Regions from separate parts of the Homo sapiens genome. Here all the other regions are linked to region 1. Evidence: promoter capture Hi-C in 16 types of primary human blood cells and fetal thymus (Javierre and others, 2016). All regions are on one chromosome and are shown on one strand. The core of a region is centred on a gene start or on the middle of the fragment in contact, and the rest is flanking DNA. Distances in the headings are between cores, read along the strand shown. Region 1 holds the start of ZNF45 (zinc finger protein 45). Region 2 holds the start of LOC728485 (a long non-coding RNA gene). Region 3 overlaps ZNF875 (zinc finger protein 875). Region 4 overlaps ZNF569 (zinc finger protein 569). Region 5 overlaps ZNF569 (zinc finger protein 569).

Region 1 (2,932 bases), core at 183-2,682:
GATCAAAATATGAACTACTAATATTGCTTAAAATTAAATGAGAATTCTTTCAAAATTTTCTAAAGTCTAAACTCAACCTTGCTTTCAAAATCTTCTACAGTAAAATTCCAACCTCCCTCCCCAACTTGATCTCAAATGGCTCCTCTGCAGCCAGTTTCCTATGATTATTTATATGGATCATTTATCTATTTTATTTCCTAATTCTAAATTGGGATTTCAAACTGTGAGACCAAGGGTATTCAGATGTAAGGAACCCAAGTCTAGGACACAAATCCCACTGTTCTTACTAGCACTGTGATATAGGAAAGTAAATTAGGCTCTCTCCATTTCCTCATCTGTATAATTGGTGTAATAACAGTACCCATATCACAATACCCACATCACCTTTGTAAGGTGAACAGAACCCACAACACAAGGCCTTTGTGAAGGTTCAGTGTGTTAGTTTTTATAAAGCCCTCAGAGTGATACTCAGCACCCAATGTTTAACTAGTGTGACTAATATTCATGTCACATTTTCTCCAATTATACAATAACGGAACACTTCTGTAGCAGAAACATTTGCAAGGAATGAAATACCTTCTCGCACTCGGAACAGAAGAGGAAGGTGAATGCTAGGTCCTGTCACAGTGGGGCTCTGCTGCCAGAAGCCAGGATGCTCTCCTTCCTCCTCTCCCGCAGCATTCTTTCAGAAGTCAGGGCAGGGGAAGGAAAGGAGGCTGGGAGATTGCACGATCTTGTCTGAGATCCTGGAAAATCCACAGAGGATAACTCCAGACGCCACCTGTTGAGTGATGCACTCTTTCTTAAAAAACGGGTCAGGCATAGTCCAAGAACAGCCTCCTTTCCTGCAGGAATCAGAAAGAAGAGCCAGGCGCTTGCTGAAAAATGAATATTTTTTATTATGATAGTTTTAATATTAACGGCCGACATGTTGCCACATTCCTGTACTATTCCATACACATTTTACTTGTACTATATTACTAATTGTCAAAACAAATATATAAGGTTAATATTTCCTTTTGCAGAAGAGGAAACTAAGACCAGAAACTAAGCACCGAAAGATTAAGTTCTCACCCAACGTTACACCGCTAGGAAGCTACAGAGCTGTGGGAGGTGGGGGAAGGCGGGTCGGGCCGCTGAGAGCCCAGGAGATCCTCAGACGCCTCCCCATTCAGGTCCACTTCCAACCAGGGGACTCCCGAACCGCCCCGAACGCAGCAGCTCCGGATACAGTAAGGCAATCAGCTGCCCAGCCATTCAACTCCGCCCTCCGCTGCTCGCCGCAGCGTCTTTTCCTGCTGACCGAAGTGCGAGCCCTGCTGATCCTACGACCAAACCATAAAAGTTAAAACAGGTCGCGGGGTCCCAGGACTCACTCACTTCCACGAGAGGAATGAAGGCCGCGCTCTCAACCTCTTGCCGCGGAAGTGCCCGGGAGAGCAGGGAGCTCTGGAACTACATTTCCCAGCATCCCCGGGAGGAACGGAAGCCGCTGCCCCGCCCCCTGGGCGGAAGTGCGGGCTTCGACTCCCACGGCCGAATCTTATTTCTCAGAATCCCCAAGGGGAGCGGGCTTCGTGTTCTCGTCCTCAAATAGTCGAAGTACCACCGAACCCACTGAGCACTGGGGTATAGGTTCCTATTTCCCCAGGGGAGCAAATAACAAAGCCGCGCTTTCCCAGAGCTGAAGTGCCCCCAAAAGTCTGGACCACACGTCCCAGAATCCTCTGTAGGGCTGAGCTTCCCGCCAGCCTGCAATTTTCCTTTTGAATTAGCGGGGGGAGTCTAAGTCATTGCTTGTAGAGCTCAGCCTGCTTTTTCCTTTTGCCATTGTTCCCTTTTATACGTGACAGAAGTTGCGAATATGAAAAAAAAAAAGGAAAATACAAAGGAATGCTATGTGTGAGCTAAAAACAGAGGTAATAAAAGAGGTGGCCAGAGCCGCCCAGAGCAACAAGCCTTTTATAATATGGGTATGGATTCATCTGTGATTAAAAATGCTCAAAAAAGGAGATGCAATCATCCAGCAGGACATGAAACAAAAGCAGCAAAATTCTCCACTTTTCTTGCGCTTAGTTTTCTTTCATTCGCAGGATACTGAAGAAAGTATTATAGTATTGAATAGGCTCTATCCTATATAAAATCTTGAAAACATTCAGTTCAGATTAAGGAATCACATCACTTCTTGCTCTCAGAATCAGGAATCTGTAAAGGTGTCTTATGATTTGCCAAAGTGTCTATGAATATTCAGTAAGGAGAGGGAGGTGAAGTGAGGGATTAAGACATGAAGTGCAAAAAATACAGAAAGCTATACTATTCACTTTTCTCCTAGGTAGAAACTAAATATTTTTCCAAGTTTATTATGAAAGGGTAAAGAAGAAAAAATGGAAGTTGACTACATAGGAGTAGCTGTAAACATCTGAACAATGTTCAATTTAGGCTGAGGCAGGAGACCAGCAGGGCGTGATTCCAAGATCAGATAAGAAACCTGCTGAAACCAGCAAGTGATGGAAAGCAACCTGTAAGTTCCCTTTGCTACCTATCAGTATAAGACACTCCCACCAGCGCCGTGACGGTTTATAAATGCCATGGCAACACCTGGAAGTTACCAACCCCTTTTCTAGAGATTTCCGAGTAACTCACCCCTTAATTTGCATGTAATGAAAAGTTGGTATAAATATACCCAGCCAACAGCCCATATGCTGCTACTCTGGGCACACTGCCTGTGGGCTAGTCTTGGTCTGCAAGGAACAGTCACTGAGCTTTTAACACTGTTGATTCGATAAACCTGCTTTCTTCCGCTGCTGGCTTGCTGTTGAATTCTTTCCTGAGCAAAGCCAAGAAACTGCCCTGCATCAATGCCATTTCAAAATCTGGATAAGTACTCTCTCTACTTTAGTAAGAGGAAGAGAGAAATGTAATCACCCAATGG
Region 2 (2,932 bases), core at 180-2,679, 7.2 Mb before region 1:
CGCTATGGGGCCGGCTCGCCCGCTAGAGTGGTCAGGCCTGATTATCCCTGGCAGCTCTGTTATCTGGGGTAAGACACAGGAAAACGTGCTTCCGGTTCTCGGCGGAAGTAGCCCCGAACGGTAGAACCGATGGGAAATGTAGTCCAGGGCAGAAAAGCGGTCAACCCAGCCACGATGCGAGCCAAAGGATTCTTGGCTCCAAGCCTGGTCCTGGCTGTTAGTTTGGAACTCATGCACCCAGATGCTAACTCGCCCTCAGAATGCAGAGGGGATGAAACACTGACCGGACAATTCAATCTGTATATGGGTGAGTCCAGGGCTCAGTCTGCATTGCGCGGAAAATGAAGGTGAAGGTGGAGGTGGGACCTGATGGTCTCGTCCCGGATAGGGTTGAAGAAGTGGGAGAAAAGGAATCAAAATCGTGGATGGGATAAGATTGTGCGCGAATGCTCTCTGGGAGCGGATCGTGGCCGACGAGGGCCCGAAGATGCTGCCTTGTGATCGCAGGTGTGAGTGGAAGCTGTGTGAGTGTCAATGTGAGTTGCCTGTTTGGGAGACCAGCATTGTATTTTTGTATCAGGTAGTAACCTTGGAGCCAGGTATTTGTAAAATTATGATAAGAGGGCATCATTCTGGAGCATCGATTTTATTTGGAGGTTGACAGGAGAGGGAAAAAAACCCCTAATATCTGATAAACAACATAAATAGATTTTTATGTTAAAGTAGTTATATTTATTACGGTCTAGAATGCAAATCCAACATGGCTTTTAAAGCAAGAAAGATTTTTTTTATACAAAGTCAAAGGTATTATTTTTATACACTTACTACAAAACATACAAATAGTATACCAAGCCTAAGAATATAAAGAGTCTAGCTTTAATTAATTGAATGTAAATTTAAAAACAAGCATCTAATAAGTAGTCCTTTTCACACATCGAAAAGCCAATTTCGGAATTTTTTTAAAAACTCAAATTACAAAGTAACAAATATCTGGTGTCTTAGTAACTTGAAGATCAGTACTAATGATTAAGCCAGCTTATATGCTAATATGATACATGAAAAAGCCTGTATTTCACAAATAGCAAACCACTAAAACTTTAATTTTCCACAGAAGCCATTGTTTCACACCAATAATTATGTTAAAGATCAAGACAGGCTAAAAGTTTTTAATGAGCACTGAATCCATTAAAACTTGGCAAATTTTTCCACGAAGGTAGAATTTTAATTTCTGTTTAAACCATGGGTAGATGGTACACCCTTGTGAGGGTGTACTGTAAGTACTTCTAAGGAGCTTTATCAGACTTCATCCCAAATTATGTACCTAGTAAAAGATGTACCAATGTCTACTTTGGAATAAGAAATTATTCCTTGTTTGAGCAAGGATTAAGCAGAAACTGAAAGAAGTGTAGTTTATAGCTTCTTACATAAAGTAGATGGGCACCCCTCAAAAACAAACCAATATCCTGGCTCCTTAAATATCAACATTAATCTAAATAATGTATAGCATGCTCCTGTCCAATCTTTCCCGCTCATTTGTAGTCTTCTCAGATCGATGCTTCATTTTAGTCACACATTTCTATCCTGCAAGACTGGGTACCTGGGCTTTTTGTCTGGTTTTGTAACACTAGGCAGTTTTGGCCTTACTCAAAATATAAGACTGCAAAAGGCCTGTTTTACCTCAACCATACGGCTTCAGGAAATGGTCTGTATTTCCAACAGAAAAGTGGTATCTAACTCTCAGGATGGTTTCTAACAACTGGATAGATACCTGGGTCTTTGCGGCCTGTGATGCAGCCTAACAATACAGGACCTTGTGTGATCAGCTAGGTCTGCTAAAGCAAGGGGACATCCATGTTCTAGATTTTTATTTATTTATTTTTTTTTGAGACGGAGTCTTGCTCTGTCGCCCAGGCTGGAGTGCAGTGGCGTGATCTCGGCTCACTGCAAACTCCGCCTCCCGGGTTCAAGCCATTCTCCTGCCTCAGCCTCCTGAGTAGCTGGGACTACAGGCGCCCGCCACCACGCCCGGCTAATTTTTTGTATTTTTCGTAGAGACGGGGTTTCACCGTATTAGCCAAGATGGTCTCGATCTCCTGACTTCGTGATCCGCCCGCCTTGGCCTCCCAAAGTGCTGGGATTACAGGCGTGAGCCACCTCGCCCGGCCCATGTTCTAGATTTTTTATTCTGGTTTAGCAGGATCCAAACTGCCTGTCCTGAAGAGACTCTCTTTCTCTTCCATACAACGGCTGGCCTCTACCAAGTTAACTGCTTCGTGGGGGGAAAATATTGCCTTTCCTTTGGTCTGCATGTTTTAAGGGAAATACCAAATACACCTACAGGAGTTTATCAATAATAGACAAGGCTGATTTCAAACTCTTTCAGGAGATAAACTGGAGGGGAAGACGAATGGCAGGAGGGTGAAGAGGAAACTGAATTACTGTGCAAACACCCGCCACTCAAATCCGGGTGGTTACTGCAGAGTGAATAACGATAGGTACTATTTCGTGTAAGGCAAAGTCCTTTGAAAGGGCTCCTAGAGCGTCAAGGCCTCCACCTGATGAATGAATGAGTCAGGCAGGCCCAGCTCCACTTCACGGATGGGAAAACTGAGGTACGAGGCCTCGCTGAAAGATGCGAGGCAGAGCGGAGAACCAGAAGCACCACTTCTCTCAGGCTGATGCTCTAATCTCGGCTCCCCCCGCCCCTACAATGGCGTAGACGGCCTCCGCCGCCCGACTCACACACACCCTCCCCCGGGAACGGCAAGTCTCCTCGGGTTCCAAGGACAGGGTCAAAAGACAAGAGGCCCGAGGCGCTCCCGCCGTGATTTGCAGCCAGATACCGTTGGGAGCGCAGCCAGAGAGCGTTGGGAGCGTGCGTACCTCCAGCCCAACATGGCGGCGGCAGCGGCCGCCCCCGACCCCAAGCCCT
Region 3 (2,932 bases), core at 135-2,634, 6.6 Mb before region 1:
AATAGTTTTCCTGGATGCTTTCCAAGCCTCTGCCCATGTCCTGCTCCCAAAGCTAATGCCACATGTTTTAGGTATTTTGTTATGGCAGCACTTCACTTCTGTGTACCAACTTAGTGGCCTAAAGAACATAGCGGCTTAGGCCTGGTACAGTGGCTCTCACCTGTAATCCCAACACTTTGGGAGGCCGAGGCGGGCGGATCATGAGGTCAGGAGTTCGAGACCAGCCTGGCCAACATAGTGAAACCCCGTCTCTACTAAAAATACAAAAATTAGCCGGGTGTGGTGGTACACACCTGTAGTCCCAGCTACTTGGGAGGCTGAGGCGGGAGCAGGAGAATCGCTTGAACCCAGGAGGCAGAGGTTGCAGTGAGCCGAGACCACGTCATTGCACTCCAGCCTAGGTGTCAGAGTGAGACTATCTCCAAAAAATAAAGAATAAATAAAATAAAACCAAAAAAAAAAAAAAACCAAACAAACTTAGCAGCTTAAAATGAAATCATTTTTTCAAAATCCTGTGGGTCAGCAAGTAGGCCCGGCATGGCTGAGCTGATCCTCTTGGCATCCTCATGTGGCTGTAGTTAGCTGGCTGCTCAGCTACAGCTGGATGGTCTCAACCTGTCTGGTGGTTGACAGCTTGGTTGGCTGGGATGCTTCAATTCCTGGTTCTTCTCCATGTGGCCTCTTCAGCAGGCAAGCTCAGGTTATTCACATGGTGGTCTCAAGGTTTCTTGCACAGCGAGAAGGCCAGCCCTGAACTCAGATGCCTCTCAAACATCTGCTTGCATCATGTTTGCTGGTGTCCCACTGGATAAAGCAGGTCCCATGGCCAAGCCCAGGGTTAATTTAGGAGGAGACTGCATGAAGGGTAGAAACAGGGAGGCATGATTCACTGGGGCCATCACTGTACCCATCCACTGGTTAGATACAATGCTTTTGGCCGCAAGCAACAGTAAACCTAATTTAGGCTGTTCTAAACAATAAGTAACTTAGCCTATATAAAAAGAAGTTCACAGAGAGAGTGCACTTTGGGGTTGGTCCTTCAGCTCCATAAGCTTCCCAAGGACTGGGGTGCTTTCATCTCTGCAGTCTACCCTGTTCTCTACAGTGTCAGCCTCATCCAGGCTGGTTCCCCTCAAAGCCATAGGATGTCTGCCAATAGCAACTTTGTTTAATTCTCACAATGGCCCCATAAGGTAAGTACTATTATAATATCGATTTTATAGGAAATTGAGACACAGATATTAAGATATCAACGCAAAGTCATAGGGGAGGGAGGAGAGAGGGGACTGTAATTTGAACACAGTTTGTCTCCAGAGTTTGTGCTTTTAGCCACTGAGTAGTTGTTAAACTTTAGTGTGCATCAGAATTACTTGGAAGCCTTGTTCAAACATTGCTGGGCTCCCCCCGCAATTTCTGATTCAGTAGCCCTAGGATGGGGACTGAGAATTTTTATTTCTAACAAGTTCCCAGGGGATGCTGGTGCTGCAGGTTCAGGGAACACACATTGAGCCAGTGCACTAAGCCCTGCTGCCTCTTTTGGGTAATCTGTGCCCATGTTTCTGAGCATCAGGAAAAGTGCTTAATTCCTGTGACTCCATCTTACAAATGACGAAGTCTTTTGCTAGAATCCTACGGTAAGGCTTCTTGTGGCCTGTTGGTTACCATTCATTTTTCATATATTTATTTTTCAGCTGGCAAGCAGATGAATTAACTCCCCCAAGCTTCTAGCTGTGTTTCTACTCAGTGGGAGAGATTTGGAGTGAATCATGAGGGTCAACCACACAGTGTCTACAATGCTCCCTACATGCATGGTTCACAGACAAACCATGAGTTGTTCCGGGGCTGGAGGAATAACGGTTGTATTAAATGTGTTAAAGTAACACTAATTGCTCTGTGATGTAGCTCCTTCGTGGGAGATTTTCAAGGGGTGTATGTGTGTATGTTCTGAGAAGGGGTTGTAAAAGCAAATCACAACAGGGACTAGGCAGATACCTGAATAGCCTTTTTCTCTCCAGTGTTTAATGATGAACAGTTTCAGACATATGGAAAAAACCAGGAAGCCTTGTACATTGAACACTCACATACCCATCACCTAGATTCTCAGTGAGTACCTCCTTCTCATGAACTTTTCCTGATCCTCAATCCTACAGTGACCTCTCCCTCTTGAGATTACTCTGACCCAGTGATTCACAACCATCACACTACTTTTAGGAGCCTTTGAAAGTACAAAAGCCCCATCCCCTGGTTTTACGGATTTGTGGTGGGACTCAAGAATCCATAATTTAAAACACCACCCAGGTAGCTCTAAAATATAGCCAGAGAGAGATGAGGTATGAGAACCAAAGCCCTCACTCATCTGTGCTCTTCTCTTGCGATTAAGTACATTGGGACTGGCTGGGTTTGGGGACAGCTATCGATATAACTGAGTGTAGGTAGAGTCTTAAGGCCATTTCATAGTCCAGCCAGTGTAGAATAGTGGAGCTGGTAGGGGACAGGAAATGTAGGGAGGATTCCCTGGGAAGGGTACAGTGTGGAATTAGTTTTAGAGACACAATGTCATACCCTCAAGGAGTGATGGAGGCATTCTGAGAAGGGGATGCAAAATCAAAGAGACAAGGCATGTACCTAAATGAATGACGCTGGTGAGGCAGTCTCCAATAGTGTGTTGCGGCTGATAGACCCCCAGCATGAGTCACCGTCAGCCAACTGTGGTCCTACAGCAGTGCAAAGCCCAGGGTGGTCAGATTTATGGATTTTTAACATAACCCATAGATTGAGATTTTCATATGAAATCTTCCAACATTTAATTGATATAAACACAAGTTTTAAAGCAGTATATGGGTCAAATTAAACCCCTCTATGGACTGCAGATTGTACCTAAAGAGAATAAGTGTTGGGCAGGGAAGAATCCCAGTGCTAGATTTCCAGACTC
Region 4 (2,932 bases), core at 213-2,712, 6.5 Mb before region 1:
GTTCCTTATAGATGCTGGATATTAGGACTGTGTCAGATGCATAGTTTGCAAATATTTTCTCCCATTCTGTAGGTTGTATGTTTACTGATAGTTTACATAAATGATAATCTTGACTAAATATATTACAACGAATATACAAAAAGATAATAAATTAAAATCTACAAATCAATAATTCAAAATAGAAACACAGGCATACTTCAGAGATACTGTGGGTTCAGTTCCACACCACCACAATAAAGCATGTCACACAACATTTTTGGTTTCCCAGTGCATATAAAAGTTATGTTGGCTGGGTGCGGTGGCTCACGACTGTAATCCCAGCACTTTGGGAGGCCGAGGTGGGTGAATCATTTGAGGTCAGGGGTTCAAGACCAGCCTGGCCAATATGGTGAAACCCTGTCTCTACTAAAAATTCAAAAAAATTAGCCGGGCGTGGTGGCAGGCGCCTGTAATCCCAGCTACTGGGAGGCTGAGGCAGGAGAATCGTTTGAACCTGGGAGGTGGAGGTTGCAGTGAGCCGAGATCATGCCACTGCACTCCAGCCTGGGTAACTAAGAGAGACTACGTCTCAAAAAAAAAAAATTTAATACTATATACTTAGTCTATTACGTATATAACAGCATCATGTCTAAAAAATGTACACCTTAATTTTAAAATATTGCTTAAAAATGCTAACAATCATCTGAACCTTCAGTGAGTCATAATCTTTTTGCTGATAGGTGTCTTCCTCAATCTCAATGTTGATGGCTGCTGACTAATCAAGGGGGGATTACAGAAAGTTGGGGTGGCTGTAGCAATTTCTTTTTTCTTTTCTTTCTTTTTTTTTTTTTTTTTTTTTGAGACAGAGTCTCCCTCTGTCGCCCAGGCAAGAGTGCAGAGGCTAGAGTGCAGTGGCTCGATCTCTGCTCACTGCAACCTCTGCCTCCCAGGTTCAAGCGATTCTCCTGCCTCAGCCTCCTGAGTAGCTGGGATTACAGGTGTGCGCCACCACGCCAGGCTAATTTTTTTTGTGTTTTTAGTAGAGACGGGGTTTCACTATGTTGGCCAGGCTAGTCTCGAACTCCTGACCTCGTGATCTGCCCACCTCGGCCTCCCAAAGTGCTCGGATTACAGGTGTGAGCCACTGCGCCGGCCCCAATTTCTTAAGATAACAATGAAGAGTCACATTGATTGACTTTTCTTTCACAAAAAGTTTCTCTGTGGCATGTGATGTTGTTTGATAGTACTTTACCCACAGTAGGACTTCTTTCAAAACTGTAGTCACTCCTCTCAAATCCTACCACTGCTTTATCAATTATATTTATGGAATATTCTAAATCATTGATTTCCACAATTTGCACAGCATCTTCACCAGGAGTAGATCCTAAAGAAATGACTTTCTTTGTTCACCCATAAGAAGTAATCCTTATCCCTGCAATCACGAGACTGCAGCAATTCAGTCACATCTTCCGGCTCTACTTCTAATTCTACTTCTCTTGCTAGTTGCACATCTACAATTACTTCCTCCACTGAAGCCTTGAATCCTTCAAAGTCATCCATGAGTGTCGAATGAACCTCTTTCAAACTCCTGTTGATATTCTGATCTCCTCTCCTGAGTCATGAATATTCATAATAGCACCTGGAAACATAAATCCTTTCCAGCCAGTTTTTACACTTTTTAATTTACTTTACCCAGATCCATCAGAGGAATCATTACCTATGGAAGCTATTACATTACAGAATGTATTTCGTAAATAATAAGACTTGAAAGTCAAAATTACTGCTTGATCCATGAGCTGCAGAATGGATGTTGTATTAGCAGGCATGAAAACCAACACTGATCTCCTTGTACATCTCCATTAGAGCTCCTGGGTGACCAAGTGCACTGTCAATGAGCAATACTATTTTCAAAGGAACTTTTTTTTCTCGTGAGCAGTAGGTATCAACAGTGGGCTTAAAATATTTAGCAAATCAATGCTGTAAACAGATGTGCTGTCGTCCAGGCTTTGTTATTCCATTTATAGAGCACGAGCAGGGTGTATTTAGCATAATTCCTAAGGGCCCTAGGATTTTCAGAATGGGAAATGAATACTGGCTCCAACTTAAAGTCACCACCTGCATTAGCCCATAACAGGAGGGTCAGTCTGTCATTTGAAACTTTGAAGCCAGCCACTGACTTCACCTCTCTAGCTGTGAAAGTCCTAGATGGCATCTTCTTCCAATAGAAGGCTGTTGCATCTACATCGGAACGCTATTGTTTAGTTAGCCACCCTCATCAATAATCTTAGCTAGATCTTCTGGATAATTTACTGCAGCTTCCATCGGCTCTTACTGCTTTACCTTGTATTTTTATGTTATGGAGATGGCTCTTTCCTTAAACCTTATGAACCTACCTCTGCTAGCTTCAAACTTTTCTTCTGCAGCTTCCTCACCTCTAAGCCTTCATAGAATTGAAGATAATTAGGGGCTTGTCCTGGATTATGCTTTGGCTTAAGGGAATGCTGTGGCTGGTTTGATCTTCTACCCAGACAACTAAAACTTTCTCCCTATCAACAATAAGGCTATTTTGCTTTCTTATCATCTTATCATTTGTGTGTATACTGTAGTGGCACTTTTTTTTTTTTTTTTTTTTTTTTGAGACAGGGTCTTGCTCTGTCACCTAGGCTGGGATGCAGTAGTGTGATCTCAGCTCATTGCAACCTCCACCTCTTAGACTCAATCAATCCTCTCGTCTCAGCCTCCCAAGCAGCTGGGACTACAGGCATGCACCATTACATCCGGCTAATTTCTGTATTTTTAGTAGAGACAGGGTTTCACCATGTTGCCCAGTCTGGTCTTGAACTCCTGGGCCCAAGCAATCCACCGGCCTCAGCCTGCCAAAGTGTTAGGATTACAGGCGTGAGCCACCACACCTGGCCAGCACTTTAAATTTACTTCAAGAACTTTTCCTTTG
Region 5 (2,932 bases), core at 196-2,695, 6.5 Mb before region 1:
AATAAAACCTTAGGTTTAAATTATCACTTTGGTTGTTCTATGGAGAATGGACTATAGATGGTCAGGAGTGGATACAGGGAGATTAGTAGGCAGTTGCCAGAGTAGTTCCAGGTAAGAAATGAAGTGACATGGATTATAAGATCCATGGAAATGTTGATCAGAGAATATAATAATATTCAGCAATGAGATTAACTGAACTACAACTAGATGCACCAATTTAACATGGATGAATCTCACAAACATAATATTAAACAAAAGCCAGACACAGAATACACAGATTATATAAAGTTAAAAGACAGGAAGAAACAATTTATGGTGATAAAAGTTGAACACTCCTGGGGTGGGGGTGATGACTAGGAAGTATAGAAAAGGTATCCTAGAGTGCTAGGGTAATTCTGTATTTCTTCACTGAGTGTGTGCGCTGTGTTACACAGGTATGTTCATTTTGAAAATTAACTGAGTGTGCCTGAGGAAGAAACTGGAGATATATAGAAGCTGGCAGATAAAAATACATGGTCGGCCGGGTGCTGAGGCTCACGCCTGTAATCCCAGCCTTTGTGAGGCGGGCAGATAACCCGAGGTCAGGAGTTGGAGACCAGCCTGGCCAACAGGGTGAAACCCTGTCTCTACTAAAAACACAAAATTAGCTGGGCATGGTGGCGCACGCCTGTAATCCCACCTACTCGGGAGGCTGAGGCAGGAGAATTGCTTGAACCTGGGAGGCAGAGGTTGCAGTGAGCCAAGATCGCATCACTGCACTCCACCCTGGGCAAAAAGTGAGACTCCAAAACACAAAAAACAAACAAAAAAAACCACGGTCAAAGAAAGGTATATCTCAGAAGAGCAAAGCTTTGAGCTGAGGGTAAAAAGTAAAATATGTTCAGTATCTGAGAGTGTAGGATAAATCTGAAAGAAAACCACAAGTATTCACAGAATATCAAGTGTACTAGGTGATCTTCTAGGTACTGGAGATACAGCAGTAAACAAAGTAAAACACACTCTCTGCTTACATTCTAGTGGTTAAAATTTTAAGAATTTACCAGAAATGATTACAGTGTGGCTCAATCAGCAGCAAATGCCCATTGAAAAAGATAATTACATAGGGTCATCTGAAAGACACACATCCCACCTCTTTCTTAAGATAGTCTAGTTTTCTCTCTTTAAATTTACGGGCCGGGCGCAGTGGCTCACACCTATAATCCCAGCACTGTGGGAGGTCAAGGCAGGTGGATCACTTGAGGTCAAGAGCTTGAGACCAACCTGGCCAACATGGTGAAATCCCATCTGTACTAAAAATACAAAAAAAAAAAAAAAATTAGCCAGGCGTGCTGGTGGGTGCCTATAATCCCAGCTACAATGGAGGCTGAGGCAAGAGAATCACTTGAACCCGGGAGGCAGAGGTTGCAGTGAGCTGAGATCGTGCCATTGCACTCCAGCTTGGGCAACAGAGCAAGACTCCATCTCAAAAAATAAATAAATAAGTAAATAAATAAATAAATTTATGTATGACATGCATAGAGTAATGTGGTAAAATGGACTAGTCTTAAGCATAAAATCTGATAAATCTGTATACATTTATAGACATGGGTACCTACCAGTAAGTCAAAATACAGAACATTTTCACCCCTCCAGATTTCTTCATGCTGTTTCACAGTAAATACCCTCTCAGAGGTAACCAGTATTCTGACTTCTATCACAATACATTAGTTTTGCCCATTTTCAACTTTATATGAATGGAACCCTATGATATATACTTTTTTGTTTCTGGCTTCTTTCATTCTATGTTTGTGTAATCTATCCATGTTGGTTGTTGCGTGTAACAGTCATCTGTTCTTTTTTATTGTTAAGTAGTATTTCACCGTGTGAAATACTATAATTTATTCCTTTTCCTGTTAATTTTCATTTGCATTGTTTCTAATGCTGGGCTATTTTGATAGTTACACTTTGTTTTATCCTTGATCGAAAGAGAACATCAAAAGAGCTAGGTTTATCAACTACAAGAAGTAACACTACAATGTTTTCATTGACCTAGGTATCAATGAAAAGCTTATTTCTGTTAGAAAATGTTGATTTTTTATTGTTACAATGAAAATTATGTAACAAATTTTTGCTCTGGTTTTCTTTACCTGTAAAAAGGAAATTTAAATTTGAAGCCCAGCTTTAATCTCTCTGAATGAATTTCATAAAATACCCACATTTTAACTCTTCCCTAGTTTTAATCGTTCAACTCTATTTCCCCTGAAAATATGTTTTATGTATACAGACCTTTATAATTTACTGTATGAATTACTGCAATCCCCTTAAATTGCATTGGAGAGTAAGGCAAGAAACAAATACACTATTTAACATTTACCTGGGACTCAGTCATTTCCTCTTCTTTCTGGGAAGGGATGGGGCCTGCAGAAGTAGAGCTGGGGAAGAGAATAAAAGTCATTAAAATAGGCCTGTCTTTAGTTTCAGAAACATGCACACACAGGGTGGATTAAAGGTCACCCTGTAGTGGAATGATAATTAAATCTATCAGAAATGCCAAGAATATTCATACCACAAAGGTTCTTAATAGGTGTGAGGATGATTGGAATAATCATGCAGAGCTTGGGCACAGGGTGGATAGAAACAGGGGTGCGTATGTGGGAGCTCTGTATCAGAGAATACATGTAGCATCATGAAAGCATATATGCAGGAAAATTATGAAACTGACAAAACACCTAAAGTATTTTAAAGTATTGAGACATTTAAGACAGTCATAATTAGCAATTAAAAAAGAAGTAGCAATTTAAAAGAATTTAAAAGGTGATATATCTTGAGGAACAAATAAAAAGTTTTTATGTGTGAGTAATGTGTATCGGAGGTACTGATGGTAAGAGAGTTAAATCCGTACTTTTCCCTAGCCAGAGCAATCAGACAAGAGAAAGAAATAAAAGGCATCCAA

What was found. The method cuts DNA at HindIII sites, captures the fragments that hold promoters and counts their contacts. A CHiCAGO score of 5 or more calls a contact.
Region 2: a contact is called between a fragment that was not itself captured here and the fragment with the promoter of ZNF45 in region 1, in 1 of 17 cell types (non-activated CD4 T cells). The highest score is 6.5, in non-activated CD4 T cells.
Region 3: a contact is called between a fragment that was not itself captured here and the fragment with the promoter of ZNF45 in region 1, in 2 of 17 cell types (naive CD4 T cells and non-activated CD4 T cells). The highest score is 8.4, in naive CD4 T cells.
Region 4: a fragment that was not itself captured here is called in contact with the fragment with the promoter of ZNF45 in region 1 in 1 of 17 cell types (total CD4 T cells); the score reaches 9.4 in total CD4 T cells.
Region 5: a fragment that was not itself captured here is called in contact with the fragment with the promoter of ZNF45 in region 1 in 2 of 17 cell types (activated CD4 T cells and total CD4 T cells); the score reaches 6.6 in activated CD4 T cells.

The regions. Positions count from the first base shown.
Region 1 is chr19:43,933,850-43,936,781 of GRCh38, forward strand. ZNF45 (zinc finger protein 45) reads right to left here and starts at 1,433. Exons shown (of 10, transcript NM_003425.4): 1 at 1,075-1,433; 2 at 577-845. It overlaps ZNF45-AS1 (ZNF45 antisense RNA 1), which reads left to right. Exons shown (of 3, transcript NR_184050.1): 3 at 1-1,965. The HindIII fragment of the contact is 8,828 bases long and covers 1-2,932 here.
Region 2 is chr19:36,773,003-36,775,934 of GRCh38, forward strand. LOC728485 (a long non-coding RNA gene) reads left to right here and starts at 151. Exons shown (of 2, transcript NR_164117.1): 1 at 151-507; 2 at 2,384-2,932. RefSeq lists an enhancer at 1-65. The HindIII fragment of the contact is 5,631 bases long and covers 1-2,932 here.
Region 3 is chr19:37,342,919-37,345,850 of GRCh38, forward strand. The region is part of intron 2 of ZNF875 (zinc finger protein 875); the gene reads left to right. Among named protein-coding and RNA genes, the nearest start is that of ZNF875, 9.7 kb to the left of the region's middle. The HindIII fragment of the contact is 669 bases long and covers 1,051-1,719 here.
Region 4 is chr19:37,419,153-37,422,084 of GRCh38, forward strand. The region is part of intron 5 of ZNF569 (zinc finger protein 569); the gene reads right to left. Among named protein-coding and RNA genes, the nearest start is that of ZNF569, 47 kb to the right of the region's middle. The HindIII fragment of the contact is 3,084 bases long and covers 1-2,932 here.
Region 5 is chr19:37,442,554-37,445,485 of GRCh38, forward strand. It overlaps ZNF569 (zinc finger protein 569), which reads right to left. Exons shown (of 6, transcript NM_152484.3): 3 at 2,354-2,411. The coding sequence starts at 2,368. Among named protein-coding and RNA genes, the nearest start is that of ZNF569, 23 kb to the right of the region's middle. The HindIII fragment of the contact is 1,197 bases long and covers 848-2,044 here.